4 separate regions of the Homo sapiens genome follow, and regions 2, 3 and 4 are each linked to region 1. Evidence: promoter capture Hi-C in human tissues and cell types (Jung and others, 2019). All regions are on one chromosome and are shown on one strand. Each heading gives the region's core, a stretch centred on a gene start or on the middle of the fragment in contact. The rest is flanking DNA. Distances are from core to core; before and after follow the strand shown. Region 1 holds the start of NT5M (5',3'-nucleotidase, mitochondrial). Region 2 holds the start of ALKBH5 (alkB homolog 5, RNA demethylase). Region 3 holds the start of ATPAF2 (ATP synthase mitochondrial F1 complex assembly factor 2). Region 4 overlaps TOM1L2 (target of myb1 like 2 membrane trafficking protein).

Evidence for each region. The method cuts DNA at HindIII sites, captures the fragments that hold promoters and counts their contacts. A contact is called where the count stands out against the background at its distance.
Region 2: the fragment with the promoter of ALKBH5 here is called in contact with the fragment with the promoter of NT5M in region 1 in 1 of the 25 tissues and cell types used here (spleen).
Region 3: the fragment with the promoter of ATPAF2 here is called in contact with the fragment with the promoter of NT5M in region 1 in 2 of the 25 tissues and cell types used here (heart right ventricle and mesenchymal stem cells).
Region 4: a contact is called between a fragment that was not itself captured here and the fragment with the promoter of NT5M in region 1, in 1 of the 25 tissues and cell types used here (spleen).

The regions. Positions count from the first base shown.
Region 1 is chr17:17,301,897-17,304,771 of GRCh38, reverse strand. It overlaps NT5M (5',3'-nucleotidase, mitochondrial), which reads right to left and starts at 1,399. Exons shown (of 5, transcript NM_020201.4): 1 at 955-1,399. The coding sequence starts at 1,221. RefSeq lists silencers at 830-1,019, 1,150-1,249, 1,300-1,469. The HindIII fragment of the contact is 23,347 bases long and covers 1-2,875 here.
Region 2 is chr17:18,182,318-18,185,192 of GRCh38, reverse strand. It overlaps ALKBH5 (alkB homolog 5, RNA demethylase), which reads right to left and starts at 1,365. Exons shown (of 4, transcript NM_017758.4): 1 at 180-1,365. The coding sequence starts at 949. RefSeq lists silencers at 488-639, 798-887, 968-1,267 and enhancers at 533-1,370, 1,478-1,717, 1,778-1,977. The HindIII fragment of the contact is 6,004 bases long and covers 1-2,875 here.
Region 3 is chr17:18,037,732-18,040,606 of GRCh38, reverse strand. ATPAF2 (ATP synthase mitochondrial F1 complex assembly factor 2) reads left to right here and starts at 1,439. Exons shown (of 8, transcript NM_145691.4): 1 at 1,439-1,726. The coding sequence starts at 1,594. It overlaps GID4 (GID complex subunit 4 homolog), which reads right to left and starts at 1,199. Exons shown (of 6, transcript NM_024052.5): 1 at 705-1,199. The coding sequence starts at 1,142. RefSeq lists enhancers at 191-250, 1,401-1,510, 1,651-1,700, 1,711-1,780 and silencers at 601-1,190, 1,201-1,290. The HindIII fragment of the contact is 10,779 bases long and covers 1-2,139 here.
Region 4 is chr17:17,853,330-17,856,204 of GRCh38, reverse strand. The region is part of intron 12 of TOM1L2 (target of myb1 like 2 membrane trafficking protein); the gene reads left to right. Among named protein-coding and RNA genes, the nearest start is that of SREBF1, 18 kb to the right of the region's middle. The HindIII fragment of the contact is 7,112 bases long and covers 1-2,875 here.

The sequences.
Region 1 (2,875 bases), core at 150-2,649:
GGAGGCAGACAGACTTGGGTTTGAGTCCTGACTGAGCCCCTGAGCAGCATGTGACTTGGGGCAAGTTTCCTCATCTGGAAAACAGAGATAATAATATCTACCCAACAAAAGAGAGGATGCAGTGAACTTGTGGCTAAAAAACGGGCTCTTGTAACTTCCTTCTCCTCTTTATCAAACCCTCCAGCAGCAACCCTAGGTGGCCAATCAAGGGATGCCAAAAAACACTCAGCCTCTTTAATTTTGTGCATACCAAAATCCCCTGTTCCTTTTGCAAAATACTTCAAATTTACCAACCAAGATCTGTGTGTAAACGTCCCTCCTTGGATCTTTCCCCTCTATCCATCCTGGACAGAACACCTCGGGAGTCGGATGGTAGGGGTTGAGCTCAGGTGTTCAGCAAGGCCAGCTCTGCAAGGGGATAAGACATGAGGTGGATCCCACCTCACCTGGACCACTGACTCACTGTGTGACCCCCAGAAAGTCACACAACCTCTCTGGGCCTCAAATACCCCTGGAAGCTATGCTTTCATGGACAACAGTAAAAAAGATGGGTAAAGACACCCATCAAAGTCCTGGGGACAAAGAAGTGGGAATGTGACTGCGGTCGGGGTGAAAGAGGACAACTTATAACGTTTATTTTTCTAAAAATTTAACAAACGACTTGAGGCCAAATATGCCACAAATTTTGAAGTCAGCTTTAAATGCAGAGTTAGGTATATTAACACTTTGTACTCTCCCGCATTTTCAGAAACCTTGGATGGCAGCCAACAGATCCTGAGCGCGGGGCCGCATCTTCCCGGTGCGCTGTGGCCCCTAGTCCCCCCCAGACCCTATTCTATCAGAGGGCCACCCCGAGGCTGGGGCGCTGACCGTCCAAGGTCACCGGCGCAGGGGCGGTGTCTGGGGCTCGGGGCGAGAAGGAGGCCCGGCGCGGGGCGGGGCGGGGACGCTCACGCTCAGCCCTGGCCGCAGGCGGCCGTACTGCTCCGACACCCAGAAGCCGCGCCGGTCCTCCAGCGCGATGAAGGGCTGGTCGGGAAAGCGCGCGCGGAACTTCCTGAGGAATCCGCCCTCGAAGTCAGCCAGCACGCCGTCCATGTCCACCAGCACCCGTAGGGCGCGGCCTCCCGCCAGGCCCAGCCCGCCCGCCGCCCCGCGCCGCCCCGCGGGAACCGCCGCGCTGCAGAGCCGCCGCGCACACCAGCCGCCCAGCCGGATCATGGCCCAGCGCGCTGGCCCGTCGTGGGCGCGGGGACCTGGGCCGCGCCGTGCTGCCGGAGCCGGCCAGACATTCCCGCCGCGGAGGAGAAGCCCCCAACGCTGGGGCGCGCGTGGAGCGCGGGACGGGGAGCGGGGCGGGGAGCGCGGGGTGCGGGCGCGCAAGTACCGGCCCCAGAGCGAGGCCGCGGCGCGCGCGGTCCCTAAAGGAACACGCGCCGGCGGAGGCGGAGCCCCGGGGCGGGGCTTCGAGGACGGACAGCGGTAAGCGCCGCGCGCCTCCAGAAGGTCCGCGCTCCCGCGCTGTCGATTTGCGTCTTCTCCGTGGACCCTGGGCCCGGGCTGCCTTCTCCCACTGCACAGACTACCATGGAGGAGCAGTGCAAACCGAGAAGCAGGCCTGTGTCGTTAGACATTTTTGAGCACTAACTGTGTCGAGTGTGAACCAAATAGACAAAGTTCCTGCCATCCTGGAACTTACGTTTTAGAAGGGGATCCAGACAACAGGATGGAGGAACAAAAACAGGGTGCACTCTGAAAGCCTCTCTGCTTTATTTACAGCAAATGTCTGCGGAGAGACTGATAGAACCAATATCTGCTAACATCATACAGCCTTAGTAAAACTGATGATTCTCAGGTAAATATATGAATAAATATTAAGTACCCCTGTATTGCTTTTTTTTTTTTTTTTTTTTGGAGACGGGGTCTTGCTCTGTTACCCAGGGTGGAAGCAGTGGCATGATCTCGGTTCCCTGCAGCCTTGAGTTTCTGGGCCCAAGGGATCGTCCTGCTTCTGCCTCCTGAGTAGCTGGGACCACAGGGGCCTGCCACCACACCCTGGTAATTTTTTTTTTTTTTTTTTTTTTTTTGAGACAGGAGTCTTCCTATGTTGGGCTCAAACGATCCTCCCACCTCAGCCTCCCAAAGTGCTGGGATTACAGGCGTGAGCCACCGCGCCCGGCCTCTTTTCAACTTTTAAGTACAGGGATACATGTGCAGATTTGTTATATAAATTGACTGTCTTGGGGGTTTAGTGTACAGATTATTATTACCCAGGTAATAAGCGTAGTTCCTGATAGGTAGTTTTTCCATCCTCACCCTCCTCCCACTCTCCACCCTCAAGTAGGTCACCGTGTCTGTTGTCCCCATCATTACGTCCATGTTTACTTAATGTTTAGTTCCCGCTTTTAAGTGAGAGCATGAGGTATTTAATTTTCTGTTCCTGTGTTTGCTTAGGATAATTGTCTCCAGCTCCATCCATATGGCTGCAAAAGACATGATCTTATTCTTTTTTTATGACTGTGAAGTATTCTATGGTATATATGTACCACATTCTCTCCCTTTTTTTTTTTTTTTTCTTGATAGGGAGTCTTGCTCTTGTTGCCCAGGCTGGAGTGCAGTGGCAGGATCTCGGCTCACTGCAACCTCCACCTCCCAGGTTCAAGCGATTCCCCTGCCTCAGCCTCCCAAGTGGCTGGGATTACAGGCGCCCACCACCACACCCAGCTTTTTTGCATTTTTAGTAGAGACAGGGTTTCACTATGTTAGCCAGGCTGATCTCCAACTCCTGACCTTGTGATCTGCCCGCCTCGGCCTCCCAAAGTGCCGGGGTTACAGGTGTGAGCCACCGCACCCGGCCGATTTTTGTATTTTTAGT
Region 2 (2,875 bases), core at 116-2,615, 880 kb before region 1:
ATTTTCTTGCTATAGGTATCTTAAACACAAAACCCTTCTCTCGCTCCCTACAATCTACAAACAGAAGAACTGGTCAGAACTGTAAAAAACGCAGACTCCTACGGGCTGCTGCTTTCTGGGCCAGGGTGGGTAGCTAAGGCAGCAGGCGCAGGGCCGCCCCCTCCACCCGGGTGGGTTACCTGAGCACAGTCACGCTTCCCCTGCGCACCGGCAGGGAAAGCACTGGTTCCGACACCCGAATAGGCTTGAACTGGAACTTGCAGCCGAAGCACAGCGCAGAGTCGCTAAAGAAGGACACGGACACGATGGGGCGCTCGAAGATGTGGATGGGGTCCACGTGAGACACGATGCAGCCGCCGGGCTGGTAGTCGTTGATGACGGCGCTGTTGACGAAGCCCTCGGGGATGACGCGGTGCTCCACCAGCTTTTGGATCACCAGCTGGTGCACCCACTCGGGGATCTCGTCCACGTCGCCCGGCGGGTAGAGGCGCTCCTGGCCGGGCCCGCGCTTCTGCAGCTGGGCGCCGTAAGTGTAGCCTTCGCCGAAGAAGTACTTGTTGCGCAGTGGGGCCCGGTCCACCGTGTGCTCGTTGTACAGGCCCTTCTCAGCGCGGGACACCACCTCGTCAATGCGGGCCTCGATCTTGGCGCACTCGTCCTGGCTGAAGAGGCGCATCTGGCGGATGCCGCTCTTCACCTTGCGCGCCTCCTCCTCCTTCTGCAGCTGCTGCTCCTCATAGTCGCTGCGCTCGGGGTCCGAGTCCTCCTGATACTTGCGCTTGGCCCCGGACACAGGGTAAGGTTCGGCGGCAGCGGCGGCTGCGGCTGCGGCGGCTACGGCGGCTGCGGCAGCGGCGGCGGCCTCCCGGCTGCCCGCCTTATAGTTGTCCCGGGACGTCATGGACTTGAGCTTCTCACGCAGGTCCGTGTAGCCGCTGGCGGCCGCCATGGCCCCCACGACGCTGCTCTAGGGTCCTCCGGGGCGGGCGGGGCAGCCGGGCATGGCTCTAAGGGGACGCGCCCCGGGGCCCCCGGAGGGAGGGGGGTCCTTAGCGCCGAACCCCCATGCGTGAGTGGGGGACCCGGCGGGGGGCGTCGAGGGTCCGGGCGTGGGGTAGGGCCTCAGGAGCGGCGGGTCATGCAACGGTGGCGACAACGGGGCTTCTTCCTCCTCCACCTTCTCCACGTCCCGCGGGGCAGGGGCGCCGGCAGCGCCTCATGCCGCGGAGGGCTGCTGCGGAGACGCGGCCCGACTCCCGACCAGACCCTCGGACGCCCGGCCCGGCCCGCACTTTAAAGCTCTCCGCACGACGTCACGGGCAGCCAGCCCGACGTCCGCCAGCGCCGCTCCTTAGCGGGCTCCTCACCGCGCACGCGCAGTGCTGCCGGCCACCGCGGCTCCGCGCGCTACGGGCATGCGCGTGCGTGCAGGCCGGGTCGGCAGAGGCGCCGGCGCAAGCGCAGACAGGAACCGCTTGCCGTCCGCCGCCCCTCCCCCACTCTCTGAGGGGCTTCAAGGGAACGCTCTCAAATAGCAACCTGTCTTCACGCCGCGCCGCCTCCAGGACCGAAGGGCTCCCTCTACAGGGGTGCGCTCATATTGCCAACAGTGTCGCCGTGCCGCGTCACGGCATCGTCCGAACGCCCGCAGACGCCTCAACCCCAGGGCGCATTCACCAGGGAACCGCCACAACGTAGGCCGCTCCGTTACCTCCCCCTTTGGCGCTTCCACTTCTTTAATTGGGCCGTGGGCCACGCGCCGGGCAGGCCCTGACTGGAGTTTCCGGAAGTCGGTTGGTAATCATGCGTGTCAATCAGGCAGTCTCCTTAGCTACTGTGTCCGTCACTTAATTAGCGGCTGGGCGAGCAGCGAGGACCCCTAAAGGAGAAATGGGTGGTTAAATAAGTGCCTGAATGGAGACTCCACCTGAGTAAAGCCCTTAGAACGCCTAAGGAAACTTCTGAAACCCGCGAAAACTTCTCAGACTGCGGGACCTGCAGCACCCGGCCCCAGTTCTGAACCCAGATAGGAACGTCCGGCAGAAGCCAGACGCGCGTTGTCGGGGTACAAGCCAGCCTGCCGCCGCTGCCGCCGCCGCCCGGAGCGGACGTTTCACGAGTCACGTCCCGGTGACGGCGAGCGTGGGGGCGCGCTGGGGTTGGCGTCGAGCCTCCTTGGTGCTGGAGATGGGCGTGGGGGCACCTCCTACGGGGACTCTGGAAGAAAACTCCAGGAAACGAACGGGCGCAAGGCTAAGGCTAAGCTATAGATAATGACTACAGTCAATTCAAAAAAGTTTTGAAGCAGTCAGCAAAGGCGTTGCCGGGCGCGGGGCCTCACGCCTGTAATCCCAGCACTTTGCGAGGCCAAGGCGGGCGGATCACTTGAGCCCAGGAGTTTGAGACCAGCCTGGCCAACATGGCAACCCCATCTCTACAATAAAATTTTTAAAAATGAACTGGGCGTGGTGGCGCGCGCCTATGGTCCTAGCTACTCAGGAGGCTGAGGTGGGAGGATCCCTTGAGCCCAGGGGATTGAGGCTGCAGAGAGCCGAGCTGGCGCCACTGCACTCCGGCCTGGGCGACAGAGCTGCAAAACAAAACAAAAAGGCGTAGCCGTGCAGGATGCACTGGAGGGCTCCAACAAATGGGGGTCGGGGGGGATCTGCTGGAAAATCTCCCATGTCTCCCAGGATAAAGTTCCCCTGCTTTATTTGGCACTCAAAGCTTTTCTTCAAGACTCTTCTGGCCTTGGCTCCTCCTCTCCTCTCTTTCCATGTACACTGAGCCCCAGCCTGGTCCTCATCCTGTAAGCCAGGTCTACAAACATACTGTGTCTCACCTCCTGGCCTTTGCCCAGGCTGTTTGCCATGGC
Region 3 (2,875 bases), core at 190-2,689, 740 kb before region 1:
TGCCTGGACCATGAAGAGACAGAAGCAGTGAGTGGAACAGGGGACCCAGGAGGCAACATCCCAACAGACTGTGAGCAGCACTCAGGGAGTGAGTGCCTGGTCTTGAGGTGAGGCCAGGGCCTGACCAATCAGTTGCGGGTTAGGTGCTCCCCCGTCTGGGGGTCTGATGAAGCCCTCCTAAGGAGATCTCAGGAGGAGGAAGACCCCAAGGTCTGCGGATTCCTGGAACTGAGGAAGGGGCAGGAGGACATGTCTCAGGTCTGAGAGAATCTGACGTGGGCCCAGACATGGGGAGGGTCCCAAGTCTGGTGAAACCAATGGAGAGTTCTTCAGGGTCTGAAAAGGGCTGGTGGCAGTCCCTGATCTAGGGACGACAGGTCATGGGGAGGAAGGACCCAGGCCTTCTCCGAGTCATGAGGGGCTTCCGGATCCCAGACGGGCCGGTCACGGGCTTCAAGTCTGGGAGTGTTCGGGGTCCGCCAGGAGCCGGTCACGACGGGCTCTGGGTCCGAAGGGGCAGGTCAGGGCTGGGGCTCGGAGAGTGTGAGACACAGGCTGGGAAGGTCCCGGGTGGGAAGCGCCGGGTGCAGGAGGCCCCGGCGGCGAGGGCCTGTTCCGCGGCTGCGGGGTCGAGGAGCCGAAGCGGGCACGGCCCGTGAGCGCCGCGAGGAGGCCCTCGGGCCCCGGCCCGGCCCGGCGCTCACCTGCAGCACCACCTCTACGTCGTACGAGTTCCCCTTGCTCTTCTGGTGGCCGCGGAACTTGGAGCCGCTGTAGAGCAGGCTGGTGGCCACGCCGGGCTGCTGGGTGTTGATGGGCGGCGGCGGGATGAGTGAGGCCGCGGAGGCAGCGGAGGCACCGGCCGGCGGGGGACACTCGGTGCGGACCGGCATCGCGGGGTCCCCCGGAGCCAGGGCTGGGGGGAGTGGGAGAGGAACCGCCGCCGCCGCGCGGGAGCCGAGGAGGGTGGCGGGGAGGGAGAGGCCGGGGCGCGCACGCGCGGGGTGGGGGCGGGAGGGGCGACCACCCGCCCGCTGCCTGCGGAGCAAGCGCTCCGGCCGCCACCGGGACCCAGGGACCTGCGAGCAGGGCCTCCCAGTCCTGAGCTGGGTCCCCCTCCCGACTTGCCCTCGCGCACACATACACACACACAGACACTCACAGACACACAACACACAAACACACACAGACACACACACACCCCGCCCCTTCCGATTGGCTCAGGCGAGCCTGGGGGGCGGGAGCAGGCTCAGGCGGCGCTTCCGCCCATTGGCGGGAGGAGAAAACACGTGGCGCGGTGCGCGAGCGGCCCGCTGGGACTTGTAGTCTCCTCGCCGAGGCGCGGCGTGGAGGGGGCGGGGCGAGGTGCGTTTGTGATGCTGATTGACTGGGGGTGTGCGCAGGAGGCGCGCGGCGGCGACGGCGCGCCGTAGGTGTCATGCGGAAGATGGCGGCGTCCAAGGGAGGTTGAGGGCTCTGAGGAGGCGTTGAGAGGTTTCCGTACAGCCCGACCGTGCGGCTTTGGGGATCCCATCGCTCTGTGTTTCCTGCTCCAGGTTTCGCGTCTCGCATCTTCCCAGACCCTCGGGCGCGATGTGGAGGAGCTGCCTCCGGCTGCGGGACGGGGGACGCCGTCTCCTGAATCGGCCGGCGGGTGGCCCCAGCGCTTCTATGAGTCCGGGGCCAACCATCCCGTCTCCAGCCCGGGCTTACGCCCCGCCGACAGGTAAGACCATGACATGTTCTTTTGGGTTGGGGCCGAGCTGGGGTAAGGTGGGCTTCGGGCTTCGGCTGTGCAAAGCGAAGTAACTGAGGCAGGGTTCAGGCTCATGAGGTTATGCAGGCCAGTCAGGTCTTTTTACAGATGAGAAAGTGAAGCCCAGACAAGGGCAGACGACCCGAGAGGGAACAGCGAGTCACGCACGATACAGTAATTGATATTTGGCCTGTGCAGGTTTTCTCAAAGCTTATGGCTGCCCTCCCTTTAATAAGGAAAGCAGGTGTCATCTTTGTTTTCAAAAGGGGAAGTTTGGGCTCTGAATCAGGACTTCGTCTGGGTTACAGGCAGACTCTCTCAGAGGTTTGTGGTGTCTGTCTGACTGTTTTCCGTGTCTCCACTGCCCAACACAAGACCTGCCCAGAAGGGACCTAGAACCTGGGCCTTCATTCCTCCATCCCGGGCACTTCTGCTGCAGGTTTCCTGACTTTCCCTCCTACCACAACCTCTGCCATCTGCAGCCTTCTCTCCTAAATAGAAATTGACACCTCCACCTCTGACTGTGGAGTCACCTCCACCTCCAACTCTGATGAAGCTTAGAAGTAGTGGCTCTTTCATTGCTGATGGTGAGTGGTGTCAGGGTAAGAGTGAGAATGACTCATTTCAGTGAATGAAGAGCAGTAACACCCTCCCACCATTCAATTAGTTTTATTGTGCTGGAGGCAGGAGGCACGGTTGTCTTTAAGACCCACCTGTATGTATTGGTAGAGAAGCTCAATTAAAGAAGAAAAAGGCCCACCTGAATGATGTTCACTGTTCATTGCAAAAGGTTATAATATTCTGATTAAATTGTGGTTTATAATATCCTGATAAGGGACATACAAAGAAACTGTGAGAACACAGAGAATCGCTTACTCCCATCTTGGGGATGTTCAGGGTTTAGAATGGGTCTTGGGTGAAAGGGCGTTTGTTTAAGCTGAGCCATGATAGATGAGTAGGAGTTCAGCAAAAAGGTGGGAGAGTGTTGGGTATCTAGAACGTGTCCAGGGTGACAGCAAGGTATGAGGGACTTTTCCCTGACACTGCCTGTTTTAGAAAATCCAGAACTTCACAGGCAGTTTGGCATTGTGGCAGGAGTGCAAATCTAGGATCTGATGC
Region 4 (2,875 bases), core at 270-2,769, 550 kb before region 1:
TGGGAAGATCCAGCCCACATGCCCTTGTGCCTATTAATCCTGCAAAAAAGGATACTGCCCACACAAACTCCCCTGAGGGTGGCCTTGGCAGCTGGTGGTGGTGCCTGTCTCTGCCCACACAGACTGCCTCGCCACTGCCAGGTCCCACGTAGAGCTCCAGTCTCTAACTTCCCAGAAACAAACCTAACTAACAGCTAACCTGGTGTCTTGCCTGACTGACTGCAGTTTGTTTTTTTTTTTTTCTTTACAACAAATATTAATTGCTTTGCCTTATTTCCCATAGTGTAGAAACCTTGAGTCTTTTCAAGCCTCCTGAGTACAAATTCTTTACTTGGAAACTTTTTGTACTATTGAGTGAGATCAAAGGCTTTTAGACTTGGTCCCAGTGGGGTGGTGCTTGAAGTGACATAGGAAGGGATTCACAGCTTCTCTGGAAATAGTACACCTGAGCTACAGAAATTGTTCTTGTTACATTGAAAACTGGACAGGTGGGTTTCCTTGTGGGCATGGGGCTGTGGGAAGCTGCAGAGGAGCATCTGTTGGAACCCTTATGCTCCTGGGACTCAGGTGTGTGGATAGCCAACACAGAAGTTAACTGACACCACCAGGCTTATTACTGGTTGAAGAGAAATGAGACTTGTCAATGGGCTAGGGCCGGGCGGCTCTCAGGGAGACTGCTAGGCTTGTGCTCTCCCTCCCTGGCCTCTCTAGTGTGAGGTCTTTTTGCCTCTCTTGGCTGGTGATCAGCTAGGGGTGTCTCCCTTTTGCAGGGTGCAGCCAGGAAAATATCCTCATGTGAGAGAATCTAAGTCAAAACAAGAACAGAGGTAGGTTAGTAAAGAATGCTGCTGCCAAAACCCAGGCTTGGGTTTGGAGGGCGGGACTCCCTCCTCAGACCTGGAGGCCCCCAAGGCTCTTACTCTGGAAGGATAATCCTAACCCCTGGAGTACCAGACAGACATGCCTCTCCCCCTTGGGCAGGCAACCCTCCCTCCTGATCCCTGAGGCAGAGCTGCCCCTGCCTGCAGTTCCAAGTGAGAATCAGCTGACAGCAGGATGGCTCACCTGCCACTCAGATCAAAACCTGTGGCTTCTGACATCCAAGATGTCTGTGGACTTTGAAAATGGGCAGGGCTGGTCTAACCACTGCCTCAGCCAAGCCAGCCTGGCCTACCTATCTTCAGAGGGGCTGAGCTTCAGGCAGCAGTCTCTATTGGAGGGCATTCCTCTGCTAGCTTCCTTCCTTTTCTCTCTTCACATGTCTTCTTCCTTTCTGTCCCTCTCTTCCAACTCATACGCTTCTTCAGATCCCTCAGACCAGCCTTCAGCTTGGATCATTGCCCAAGAAAATGCTGAAACTATGGCATGTCAGGCTGGGTGCAGTGGCTCACATCTGTAATCCCAGCACTTTGGGAGGCCAAGCTGGGCAGATCATTTGAGGCCAGGAGTTTGAGATCAGCCTGGCCAACATGGCAAAACCCTGTCTCTACTAAAAATACAAAAAAAAAAAAAATTAGGCAGGTGTGGTGGCTCACGCCTGTAATCCCAGCTACTCAGGAGGCTGAGGCACAAGGATTATCTGAACCTGGGAAGCAGAGGTCGCAGTGAGCTGAGATCGCACCACTGCACACCAGCCTGGGCAACAGAGCAAGACTCTGTCTCTAAATAAATTAATTAATTAAATAAATAACTAAATAAATAAATAAAAATAAAAATAAAACTATGACACATCAGAGCCAACAGCCTTCTTAGGAATCTGCTGGGCCAGCCCCTAGTCTGACAGATGAGGATACCGAGGCCTCCTAAGGGCCTGGTGTCTTGCCCAAAGCTGCAGGGAAGAAACAGAGTCCCCTAAGACTCAGCGCAGTGCCCCCTGCTCCAACCAGGGCCCCACTTCCCTCCCATCAGCCTGACAAGGAGCGCGTCCTCGGCCTCCCACAGTTTCTTTGGTTCATATTTTCCAAGCAGTGTACATGTTTAGTCTGAGTCTGATAGCACCTACATTATTAGAAGGAACTTTGCCCTGTTATAATACTCAAGGCATTTATTTACCAGGACAAGAGGTTTAGATAGCTAAGGTTTTGTGTCTGGCCACAAGAAAGTCAATTTAAGCTTACGTTATATAAGCTTAACTGTTAACCATCACCCTGCTCCACCATGGTTCACGCCCTGAGGCCAAGTGGCTTCTATATTGTAATGAGTCAGTTTCCATAATTTCTGACATCCCTGGGTTTCTGAATTAGAAAACAGAAGCACCAACCTGAAAGTTAAGGTTTCTGAGTCATAAGAATTGAAAGCCAAATACAATCTAGCAATCGCCTTATTTCACAGATGAGGAAATTGAGGCCAAGCATTGCTCAGGCCTCTGTCCCCTGCTCCTGCCTCTCCACCCAAATCTCTAAGGCTTCTTAGGATAGAAGAAACTCAGGAGCTCTCCGGTGAAGAAAGTGGGGTCCAGAGAGGAGCGACTCACCCCAGGTCCTGCCACCAGTGAGTGTGAGGGCCCAGATGGACCCCACCCAGTGCACTCTCCTCAGCGTGCCCTCTAGGGCTTGGTCTGGAGGATGCCATTCCATAAACATACTACTTATTTGGAAAAATCTAGGACATGGAAGAAAAGGGTTCCCATGAGCCAGCTTTTGGGAAGTTATTTTTGAGGAGGTGAGGAATTTCTTAAGTGTCATTGTTTATTTTCTGAGCATGTTGGCTCTCAAGATTTATCCCCAAAGAAGAAAATTAAAGTATGACCCCAGGCCTCAAGGGATTTGTTCTTTAGCAGCAACAAAACAATTACAAGAAAAATCTGAAGGTTTAAGGCCCCTGACCCCTTAATGTCTTTGTTGTAGCTTTTGCAACACATTGGAAAGCTCAGGAC